Regions from separate parts of the Homo sapiens genome. Here region 1 is linked to region 2. The links are contacts of gene promoters, found by promoter capture Hi-C in blood cells and fetal thymus (Javierre and others, 2016). All regions are on one chromosome and are shown on one strand. The core of a region is centred on a gene start or on the middle of the fragment in contact, and the rest is flanking DNA. Distances in the headings are between cores, read along the strand shown.

Region 1 (5,911 bases), core at 1,484-3,983, 270 kb after region 2:
ACCACCACTTCACTTAAGCACCCAACTTTCCAGTGCCCGCCCTGACCCAGCCTCCTCGTCCATTAGCTCTACAATTAGGCAGCGATCAATTGAGCAAATCCACTTAGACAGTATGTCTAGCCACTCTTGCAGTGGATTTGCTACCGAAGGAGCAAAGTACATGAGAGCTGCAGAAAACAGATCATGGAGGAGTGGAGCTCCACCAAGCCTCATCTGATCCTGACTGCCAGTCCACAAGGAATTCTTAAAAGAGTCTCAATAACACTGAATGAACTTTGTGATGTCTGAGCATAAAATGCAGTGCCAAGTTCTTTTGTCCAGCACACTCTCTTCTAATAAAATAACTCTTTTGAGTTTGATCCAAAGCTGATGATAAGAGTGAAAGAAGAGATTGCTGTCTCCGATTATAGGTATACGTGTGGTTAATGGGAATTACCTGTTAGCATGGGAAATCTGCCAATGCAGTCCCTCATATGTCAGATTAAGGGACTCCTCCATGAATGCCTGTGTTTTGGTTTTGTCTTTTGTTTCCTTGCTGCCTTAGTATTGTGGGTGAGACTGGGGCTGGCACTGACTTAGTAAACTCTATGAGAGTTGCCCCTTCTTTCTAGCTGGAATATGCAAGAAAAGCCAAAGAGGAACAGGTTCTGCAAAGAACTTGACAGCAGCAAAAGGTGTGCAGTACTACCAATTAACATTTCTAAGTCTACTGGTTGGGAATCTCTCCTATATTAGCTCACAAAAAACAAGGAGAAACTGTACATGGAAATAAACCCACGACTTCAAGTTATCAGTACTACATAGTAAGGGTAGTAATGGCTGACAGTCAATGAGCACTTTCTCTTATTCAATTACCATTAGACAGTACGCTCCACAGGAGCAGGGGCTAAGGCTGGTTGTTTTAATTTTAATTTTTTCACAGAGGCAGGGTCTTCTATGCTGCCCAGGCTGGACACAAACTCCTGGGCTCGAGCAATCCTCCTGCCTCGGCTTCCTGAGTAGCGAGGCATGTGCCACTGCGCCTATCTGTTTTGCTTACCACTGGATCCCTAGCTAACATGCCTTCTAAGTGGTAGGTTCTCAAAAAACATTTGCTGAATGACTAAAATATCTCATTCAGTTTTCATAACAACCCTAAAAGGTTTGATACAGTATTGTTATCACTATTTTACACACAAGAAAACCGAAGCTCAGTAGTAATTAAAATGTGTCCAATGTCACTCAGTTTGCAAGAGTCAGAGTTTATACTCAAACCCATATGTACTTGATACCAGACTCTATGATTCAAGCACAAGCATAATTTCACGAGTATAGACCAGACCTTAGGGCTTTTCCATTATTGAGACCCTCTATGAAAGAGGGTGCCTGAAAGAATATGTTTCATGTCAGGATGGATATCACTCCATTCCAGTCATCAGCTTTTAGATTTCTTCAATATTCTACAACAACTAAATTTAAAAGAAATAACTTACCTACAAATCCTTCTTCACCAACCAGTTTCAGGGCAATTTTATCAGCCAACACTGAAGAGTTGCCGTGAGCAATGTTAGCAAAAGGGCCCGCATGCACGAACACAGGTGTCCCCTAGAGAAGTGAAAAAGCAAATCAAAATCCCAAAAGACAAACAGAAGCATGGAAACCAAGATCAATTTGGGGCAAATGGGGTAGGAAAGCTTTTATGAATACTGCATATTTAATGCATAAAATATTTCAAAGACAGTCAAAACACCCTGACTCAATCAAAGGACCAAATTCCCTCCGGATTCTAGAAAAATGTTATTCTACATTTAATGCTGAACCTGAGAGACAAAACTGTGAGAATACAGTCACTTCCTTCCAAAATATTGTTAAACCATTTTGTTAGTTGCCTCAATGACCATGAAATAAATTATTTACCTTATTTTATGTTGCCATGCACTATATTTTTTTAAAAGAATGAAATTAAACCCTGATGGTATAAAAGGTATATTTATTTTTTTAATTAAGAAATGATTCCATTCAAGAAAAGGTAACCATAAAAATCATTACAATTGGCTGGGCACAGTGACTCACGCCTGTAATCCCCGTACTTTGGGAGGCCAAGATGGGCGGATCGCCTGAGGTCAGGAGTTCAAGACTGGCCTGGCCAACAGTGAAACCCGTCTCTACTAAAAATACAAAATTTAGCAGGGTGTGGTGGTGTGCTCCTGTAAACCCAGCTCAGCTACTCGGGAGGCTGAAGCACAAGAACAGCTTGAACCTGGGAGGTGGAGGTTGCAGTGAGCTGAGATCGCACCACTGCACTCCAGTGTGGGTGACAGACCGACTCTGACTCAAAAATGAAAAAAATAATAAATAAAAATAAATAAATAAAACCTAGGGACACATGTTTATGAATACACAGGTGGTGTCTAACTGGAATTTTGTATTATTTGGTCAACTTCTCCATCCCCCACTGCCTCTGATAACCACTATTCTACTCTTTACTTTGCAAAAGCACTTTATATTTTTGTATAAATGTAGCTTTAGCTAGAAATCACAGAATCAGATAATGTTGAGAGCACGAAGCAGCCAACTTCTTTATCCAGAAATTTAAGGCCCAGAGAGGCTAAGGGAATTCTTCAGGGCCACGGAGGAAATTAATAATTAAGTCAAGATTAGGGCTCTGGTTTTAAAACTCCCAGTATGGAGTTGGTGAGAAAAAAATATTGGAATGTCATTGTTAGACTTCCAAACACAGGTACACACACACTTGCACACTCAAACATGGATATAGCTATAAGATACAGTACATCAAATTAAACATGTTGCTTAAAAAATTCTATGACTAACTCAAAGGCATACACACATTTATCTTGAGTTCTGGGTTTTATTTTACATGCAGAACACTCAGGAAAATAAGGCAGGAACTATCTTGCTATGAATATTCTCCATAATGGCCCTTTCAAACATTTCATAAGATTAATATTTCAAGTAATTTCAAGTAATTGTTAGCTTACCAGAGTTCTAAGCACTTAAATATGAACAGTAAAATATAAACAAATAAATGCATAAATGGAAATGTGGCTAAAATGACTGAAGAACTGAATTCCAAATTTTATTGAAGTTTAGGTAATTTAGATTGAAATGGCCACATGTCCAGTGGCCGCCATATTGGACAGTGTGCTCTCGCATGTGAAGTTTCCATCAACACCACACACGGCTAACCTGTGGGAAAATGTTAACAGCTCTCACTGTTTTCTTGTCTTAAGTCTTCCTCAGTCTGGCAATACATGATACCCAAGCCTTATCCTCAGACATTACGTTCACTGGGTCTGATGGGGAGCCCGGCATCAATCAATCAATATTCTTAAACCTTCCCAGGAGCTTCTCAAGTGCAGTCAGGATTAAGAACTACTGGTCTCCTGGCAACCTGTAAGGATGTGGCCCTTGATGACCTCCTACCAGACTAACAACCAGGTGTGTTCAGATGTGAGCGGGAAAGCATAATCTACCAACTAGTCAAACTAGATTTTTGGATTATCTGCTGAGATAGATTCCTAGTCAATGATTAGATACATAAAACCCAGAGTGACAACATAGGATCAGGGTACAAGAGTTCACGTCTGCAAATATTTTAAGTGAATGCAGTGTTTTATTTTGTAAAAAGGTCCATATCTTTTAAAGTAATCTTAAAACAGCCTATGCCTTAAATGAAATCGATGACACGGAACATCCTGAAGATGGTATCTTCATTTGCCAAGTGACAGATGCAGAAACAAAACCCAAGTCCATATAATCATCTGGTGGAAGTGGTTTCTCTATGGAAAGCTTTGTTTGCTTCCTACAAATGCATGCTTATCCTTTAAGGGATGTATTATAGTTACTGTGGATTTCTCTGTTTTCCGACTTACAAGAAACTTGTCTATGTACCTTCATACTTTGTTTAGGTTGAGGAGTTCTTGTGTCCTTGTAAAGTAGTCTGAAGAATTCCCCCTTCTTTCCCTAGCAAGCCCAGTCCTGTATATGAACAGTTTGAGGACTCTTTTTTTTTTTTTTTGAGGCAGGGTCTCAGTCTATTTTATGTCTCAATCTGTCGCCCAGGCTGGAGTGCAGTGGCATGATCTCTGCTCACTGCAACCTCCACCTCCCCGGTTCAAGCTATTCTCCTGCCTCAGCCTCAGCAGGTCTTATTGCCCTTACTTTTATTTGCTTTTTAAGGGTTCTGAATCTCTGATTTATTAGGCAGCAAAGAAATAACAGGTTTAGATTATGTTTTAAAAAGTGCTCAGGCCGGGCACGGTGGCTCACACCTATAATCCCAGTACTTTGAGAGGCAGAGGCAGACGGATCACCTGAGGTCAGGAGTTTGAGACTGGCCTGGCCAACATGGTGAAACCCTGCCTCTACTAAAAATACAAAAATTTGCTGGGCGTGGTGGCCCACGCCTGTAATCCCAGCACTTTGGGAGGCCGAGGTGGGTGGATCATGAGGTCAGGAGTTCGAGACCAGCCTGGCCAACATGGTAAAACCCTGTCTCTACTAAAAATACAAAAATTAGCCAGGCATGGTAGCGGGCGCCTGTAATCCCAGATGCTCAGGAGGCTGAGGCAGGAGAATCGCTTGAAACCGGAAGGCAGAGGTTGCAGTGAGCCAAGATCACACCATTGCACTCCAGCCTGGGCAACAAGAGCAAAACTCCGTTTCAAAAAAAAAAAAAAAAAAAGAATTATTTAAAACAAGAAAATGATTATCCTGGCTGGGGCATGGTGGCTCACGCCTGTAATTCCAGCACTTTGGGGGCTCAGGCGGGCAGATCACCTGAGGTCAGGAGTTTGAGACCAGCCTGGCCAACGTGGTGAAACCCCATCTCTACTTAAAAAAAAAATACAAAAATTAGCCGGGTGTGGTGGCAGGCGCCTATAATCCCAGCTACCTGGGAGGCTGAGGCAAGAGAATCGCTTGAACCTGGGAGGCAGAGGTTGCAGTGAGCCGAGATCCCACCATTGCACTCCAGGCTGGGCGACAGGGAGAGACTCCGTCTCAAAAAAACAAAACAAAACAAAACAAAACAAACAACAACAATAAAGAAAATGATTATCCCTAATAATAAGTATTCATCTTTGAGGGAGAAGTGTTATGAAGGAATATCACATCACTTCGTATTTTTTCTCTTATTCAGTTATTTATTAATAAATGTGTATTTTTAGGAGAATGTAGTAAAAATAATAAACATTCACTTAATTATTCAACAAGTCTTTACTGAACCTCTAATAGGTGTCGGGCACTTTCTAGAAGCTGGAGATACGGTGGTGAACAGGATGGAAAAGGTCTTGCTGTCATCTCGGTGGGAGGAGAAATACAGAAAACAGATAAGGAAATAGGAAGCTCTCAGCATTCTGTGCCATGTACTGCAATGACAGCAGAGGGACGGGGGCTGCACATTCCTGTGGCTTCTCTGAGCAGCTGATGCTTACATGACATGAGAACAGAGGGAGGCGAAGGAGCTGGACATGAGAATATCAGGAAGTGGCCCAGGTAGTGGTGTTAGCCGTGCAAAGGTCCCCCAGAGGATGAGAGATGAGGATAAGGGACAAGGAGCGGGAAGGGGTGAGAGCCAGATCCCTAGGGCTTTTCAGACCGGGGTGGAAACATGGGTAAATCATGGAAGAACTCTAAGTAGGAAGGCAACAGGGCTTCATTAGGTTTCAGTCTCTATGGCTGCTGAGGAGAGAGTATTTTGGAAGAAAAGAGTAGCAGCAGAGAGACTGGTTGGGAGGCTGCTGCACTCGTGCAGGTGGGGCGTGCTGGCAGCTAAAGCAGGAAGGAGGGAGGCATTGAGCATCGTGGACAGGGCAGAGTCATGTAACCAAGGACAACTCTGCAGGGATGGACACAGGAAGAGGGGAAGGGAAAACAGGCCTCTAGGATCATCCTCGGGTTTCTGCCTTGA
Region 2 (5,755 bases), core at 1,653-4,152:
ACAAGTATTCCTGAGAGCTGCCTCTGTGCCAGGCAACATGGCACGCATGAAGGAACACCGTTGGTCGGCACAACCAGGCGTGTTCCCTGCCCCTGCGAAGTATTCACAACAGCAAGAACACTAAACCCACACATGTGAAAACTGCTGGGACGGGTCCATGGTGCCACGGAGCCTAGAGTGGGAGATGGGATTACTTGGAGGTCAGGAATTGGAGCTTAACAAGAAGAGGGGAGGCAAGGGCCATGGTGCTGAGTCATTCTTAATTGGGGAGTCCTTTTGAAAAGACATTTGTGTTCAAAGCCTGAGTGATAAATTTGGCTAGTTCAAATGAAAACTAAATACATTCCAAGGATACATGTAAGTGCACTGATTTGTCTCCAAATTGATAACTGGGCATTATGCCAACAAGTTCAATGATATTCTGGATGTCATTTAAGTGATTTTTTAAAAGGAGGTTGTTTGGTTGCTTCAAGACGGTTGGCAACTTGGAAAGAGGAAAAGGATAAGGTTATGGAAGACGGAAAAAGAGAATGGAAGGAATATTTTTAAATAAACAAATTCAAGTTTACTGGGAAGGGATTAAATCCCATATTTCAGGGTGAACAGTTAGTAAGATCTGAAGGAGTATAAAAGCCGGGGCGGTGGGGGGAATGTCACCCAACTGCAAGTTTTTAGCAATTATACCTTAAAATTATTTTCATCGCTAGACTCTGACCACTGGTTACAGAGCCACTTTGACAGTAGCTGGCATCAAAACATTATGTGCATACAGTAAGTATTAAAATGCGACTTGAATCTCAAAAGGACAGTACATTCCTCAGGCCAGAAGCTTAAGCATCTCTTAGAAAAACCTACATAGCACAGAGACACAGTTAGTACTTAATATCTAGGGACCATGGATTTTACAAGTAGTTATGAATCAAAGACTGGCGGTAAAAACTATATTATTAACAGCAGTCTCTCAGCCCAAAAGAGACTAGGGCAGCTAAGGAGGTCAAGGCAATTAGGTCATGGTTGTAGGTTCCTTTTTTTTTTTTTTTTTGCATATTGTAAACATCTACACCTCCTGCGATAACTCACGTACTCTATCCTCAAATTTGACATACCGCAAATTTAACTATTAAACATGGTTATCCACATCTTTCTACAAGGTATCACAAGGGTACCTTTGTGATACAAGGGTATCACAAAATCAGTAGAGTGAAGCCTTGCTAATGAACACATGCGCTGGAAAATAGATCTAAAATACCACGACCAGAACAAGCCACAGTCTTGGCGGCTGTCCTGGCCCACAAGAAATATTCCAGCCTTGAAGACTGAAGCCGATAAAATGCAGTCGTTTCAGCACTGCGTCCAGGGAAGAGTACCCGGAATGCTCGTTACACTGACCCCATCCTTTGAGAACTTCTAGCCACTCTAGCGTGTGTTTGGCCAACTGAGTCTGCAGGCAAAGCGCTGAGCGAACGCGAGGGCGCTGGCTGGTTTGCGAAACCTGTCATTCCTTCTGGAAACGCAGCGCCTGCCCAGGTTTTTCCTGGCTCTGAGCGAGCTACACCCCAGGCTTTCTCTGCCTCGGGAAGGCGGTGCCTGCTCGGGCCGCTGCCGCAGGAGGACTGGGTACCAAACCCGCTCGCTCCAGGCACCGCTGGCATCCAGGGCGGTACGCGACGGGGAACCCGAGGGTGGCTGGGCTCCCCGGCGGGCTCCACCACGAGTCCTGGCCTCACAGCTGACTTTCCGCATCTCGGAGCTCCGGAGGCCCGGCCCGGGGTCCATTCTCCACGGATCCCCCTCCGCGCAGCTCCTCCGCCTCGGGCTGCATGGCTCCCACCGGAAGAGTGCGCAGAAAGGCTCAGCCGCCGTGGGCAGGGCGCGGGTTTTATTATTGCGCATGGCGCAGTCGCCTCCCCTGGAGACCCGCGACAAAGATGCAAGCCCCCCGCCGCGCTCGCCGCTGCTCTGGCCCCGCCCCGGCGCGAAAGACCCTGAAAAGCCTCCAAAGAGGGGTTCGCACTCCTGAGTTTGCAGATGCGGCTGGATGGGCTGGGAAGTTCTCTCGGCGGAAATCGGAGGGACCCCCCCACCCCCACCCCCACCCCCAAAGACCCGCGCCTCCCGGCGCAGGTGGCCCGGCACGCCCGTACCTTGGTGGCGGGGTCCGAGGCAGCGATGGCGGGGTCCGCGGTGGTGTCTGGCGCCGCCTCGGCCGAGGGGCCGCCGCCGCTGGGCTCGGGCTCAGCCGGCGTGGAGCTCCCCTCGGGCGGCTGCTCCGGGCTGCGCTGCTCGGTGGAGCTCCCGGCGCCCATGGCTCCTCCGCACTTCTCCCGCGCCTAGCCGCCGGGTTACGCCTTCCCCAAGCCGCAGGGACAGGGGCAAGAGCCAAAAGACGCGCGCCCGCGAGGTCCCGAGAGCGCCTTCCTTCGCCGCCAGCCGACTGCGAACGCGCCCAGCCTGCGAATGAAGGAGACGCGCTCGCGGCAAACTCCTTAAAAGAAAAGGAAAAAAAAAAAAAGGCCACCTCTTAGCCTCCGCCCCCCTCCCCCCGGTTTTTCCCTCGCTTCATCACATGAGCACAGCCCCAGACACGCCCTGCAGCAGCATCTGCCCCCAGGCTGCCGGGACCAGAGGCGCTGCGACGCGCCAGCCCAGGTCCAGGCAGCCGCCCACCCGGCCCTCGGGCGCCTCCCGTTTCTAACAGGGCGACTAGAGCTGCGGGGACGACCCAGGGCCTCAGAAGGCAAGAGAGCAGGGGAGCAAAAAGCCTGCCGGGGACACTGGATTCTCTGGGGTTTATTAAATGATGGATCACCCAAGGCAGGAGCTTCTGCTGCAGCCGACTTTCAGCTCGCCCAGGAGCGAGTCCGAGTCCCCATTTGCTTTCCTGCAGATTGTGTTTAACTCCAAACATTTGTTCCAGCCTCCTCCCCATTAGCAGGAGAAAGGCAAGCGCTCCCTGGCTCCTCCTGAGTCCGACCATATTTGGGCACCTCACGTGGCAAGAGCAGGGAACCGAGAGGTTAACGCAGTCAGGCCACGGATGAGGTGGGCCACGCAGGCCCACGCTCTCCTATCCTCCGGAACAAGTGATGTCAGGCGATGCCATCAGCAGTGCTAGCCGCCCCCCTTCCCCCGGGGAACGGGGGGAAATGAGGCTGTTACCGGAAATGTGCCCGTCCTTCTTTGAGGGCCTGTGCTGGAAGTTACCCATCCAGGCCACCTCTGCTCCGCGCGATGCCGACACATGACAGCATAGATCTGTTCCTTTGCCGTCAGCCTTTCTCAAAAGATGAAGACTTTAAATAATACCAGCACAAGTGGCTTGCATCCTTTCATTTCCGACCCTTGAATATAATATGTATTACATGAGCATGGCAGCCAATCAATAAGTATTTGAACTAAATTAAATTTGTAGCTGGATTGCTTGGCGCAAAGCATTAAGGCTTTGGGGCTGAAAGACAAAATTTATTCCAGTTGTAACTAGCAACCGAGTGCCCCAGTTTTCACAAATACTTTGAATCTCCATTAAGAATGAAGAAACCAGCCTGGTTAACATAGCGAGACCTTGTCTCTACAAAAAATAAAAAAATTAGCCAGGCGCAGTGGTGCACCTGTAGTCCTAGCTACTCAGGAGGCTGGGGACGCTGGGGTAGAAGGATGACTTCAGCCCAGGAATTCGAGGCTGCAGTGAGCTATGACTGTGCCTCTGCACTCCATCCTAGTCGACAGAGCAAGATTCTGTCAAAAAAAAAAAAGAAAGAAAGAAGGAAGAAACTTTCGGAATATTCACACCAAATTCCAGATAAATATCTCATACTCAGATTTAGTACAATTTTGTAGAAAGGGTGTAAGCAGTAGTTCAGCACTAGGATGTTTCATGCCTAATGAATTGCATGAATCGAATGGTACCCTGGGAACCATAGGTTAGTTACTCACCATCAAATTTGTTTTCTGAATTAATTTTTTTTCTTTTTCTTTTTTTGAGACAAGGTCTCGCTGTGTTGCCCAGGCTAGTGTTGAACTCCTGAGCTCAAGCGATCCTCCTGCCTTGGCCTCTCAAAGTGCTGGGATTATAGGTGTGAACCACCACACTGGGCCTGTTTTCTGAATTAATTATTTTTATTTAAAGGACTACACGAAGGCCAATTTCTCTGGAGTTTATCTCTTAAGAAACAGTATATTTGCAAAATGCTTAGTTTTAGGAATTTATACACATTTCCCCCATTTTGACTTAAATTTTGACTATTTAGGAAACATTAGAATTCTTACTCTGTACCAGGCACTGTTCAATGCACTTTACATAATAATCTTTACAATAACCCCATGGGATAGATAGTATTATTCTCATTTTACCATTGGCAGGAGGGGGAGGAGTAGGCCCGGAGAAATTAAATTGTGTGCTTCAGGTTTCACAGCCAGGAGTTGGAAGAGCAGGAAGTCCAACTGGCATCTGCTTTCAGGGTCCACGCTTCACCACCGCATGGCACTCCCCTTCCCTTTCAATCAACTGTGTTCTCTCCTCTCAGAGGTGTTACTGAAACGTGGCATTTGGACCTCACTTAGGATTTTAAGAGCAAAAAGCACTGTTAAAACCTACTTGAGGCCAGGTGTGGTGGCTTACACCTGTAATCCCAGCACTTTGGGAGGCCGAGGTGGGTGGATCACCTGAGGACAGTAGTTCAAGACCAGCCTGGGCAACATGGTGAAACCCCGTCTCTACTAAAAGTACAAAAATTAGCCAGGCATGGTGGCGCGTGTCTGTAATCCCAGCTACTCAGGAGGCCAAGACACGAGAACTGCTTGAACCTGGGAGGTGGAGGTTGCAGTGAGCTGAGATCATGCCATTGCACGCCAGCCTGGATGACAGATTAAGACTCCGTCCCAAAAAAAAAAAAAGAAGAAGAAAAAAAAAACTATTTGAGAATGATTAACGTCAGCACATTTGAAAATGTATCAGTAAGTAGCACAAATACTATCAACATTTTCACATTCTGTGAGATTATATTTACTTTGTTCCTGGGAAATTCTTAGCAAAGCTTTTCACATCTACTACCCTTTAAATTTTCAGAAAGGATTGCAGGGTCAAGCCAACAGTGTACAACCTACGTGCTGAGGAAGATATCAGCATCTGCTTAGATTAGCAGTTACTTGCTTTTTGTTTATTTTCCAGGCCATGTAAATGTTCATACTCTTATTTGTAAAAAGTAAAATCATTGCGCTGGGCGCGGTGGCTCACGCCTGTAATCCCAGCACTTTGGGAGGTTGAAGTGGAAGGATTGCTTGACACCAGGGGTTCAAGACCAGCCTGGGCAACACAGTGAAACTCCCATCTCTACAAAAAATAAAAAAAAATTTAGCCAGGAGTGGTGGTGCATGCCTGTAGTCCTAGCTACTTGGGAGGCTGAGGCGGGAGGATCACTTGAGCCCAGGAGTTCCAGACTGCAGCCTGGATGACATAGTGAGACCCTGTCTCAAAAAAAAAAAAGAGAAGAAAAGAAAAGTGGTTGTGTTATTAATGACCTCTAGCGATGAAATAGCCCAACCTTTTGGGTATGCCACTTAGTGCTTCAGAATGCTACAAAGTTTGTTACTTTTTTTACTTTTCTTTCTTTCTTTCTTTTTCTTTCTTTCCTTCTTCTCTGTTCTTTCTTTCTTTTTCTTTCTTTCCTTCTTCTCTTTCTTTCTTTCAATAAATTTCTATCAAGTACCTATTATGTGCCAAGCACAAAGTTACCACTCTAGTTTCCAAGGTTCTAAA

Evidence for each region. The method cuts DNA at HindIII sites, captures the fragments that hold promoters and counts their contacts. A CHiCAGO score of 5 or more calls a contact.
Region 1: a fragment that was not itself captured here is called in contact with the fragment with the promoter of AKAP12 in region 2 in 1 of 17 cell types (endothelial precursors); the score reaches 5.4 in endothelial precursors.

What each region holds. Positions count from the first base shown.
Region 1 is chr6:150,967,620-150,973,530 of GRCh38, reverse strand. MTHFD1L (methylenetetrahydrofolate dehydrogenase (NADP+ dependent) 1 like) reads right to left here. Exons shown (of 28, transcript NM_015440.5): 20 at 1,473-1,584. Among named protein-coding and RNA genes, the nearest start is that of MTHFD1L, 100 kb to the right of the region's middle. The HindIII fragment of the contact is 2,116 bases long and covers 1,676-3,791 here.
Region 2 is chr6:151,237,114-151,242,868 of GRCh38, reverse strand. AKAP12 (A-kinase anchoring protein 12) reads right to left here and starts at 2,902. Exons shown (of 5, transcript NM_005100.4): 1 at 2,810-2,902; 2 at 2,145-2,485. The coding sequence starts at 2,306. RefSeq lists enhancers at 1,935-2,512, 2,590-3,099. The HindIII fragment of the contact is 4,204 bases long and covers 832-5,035 here.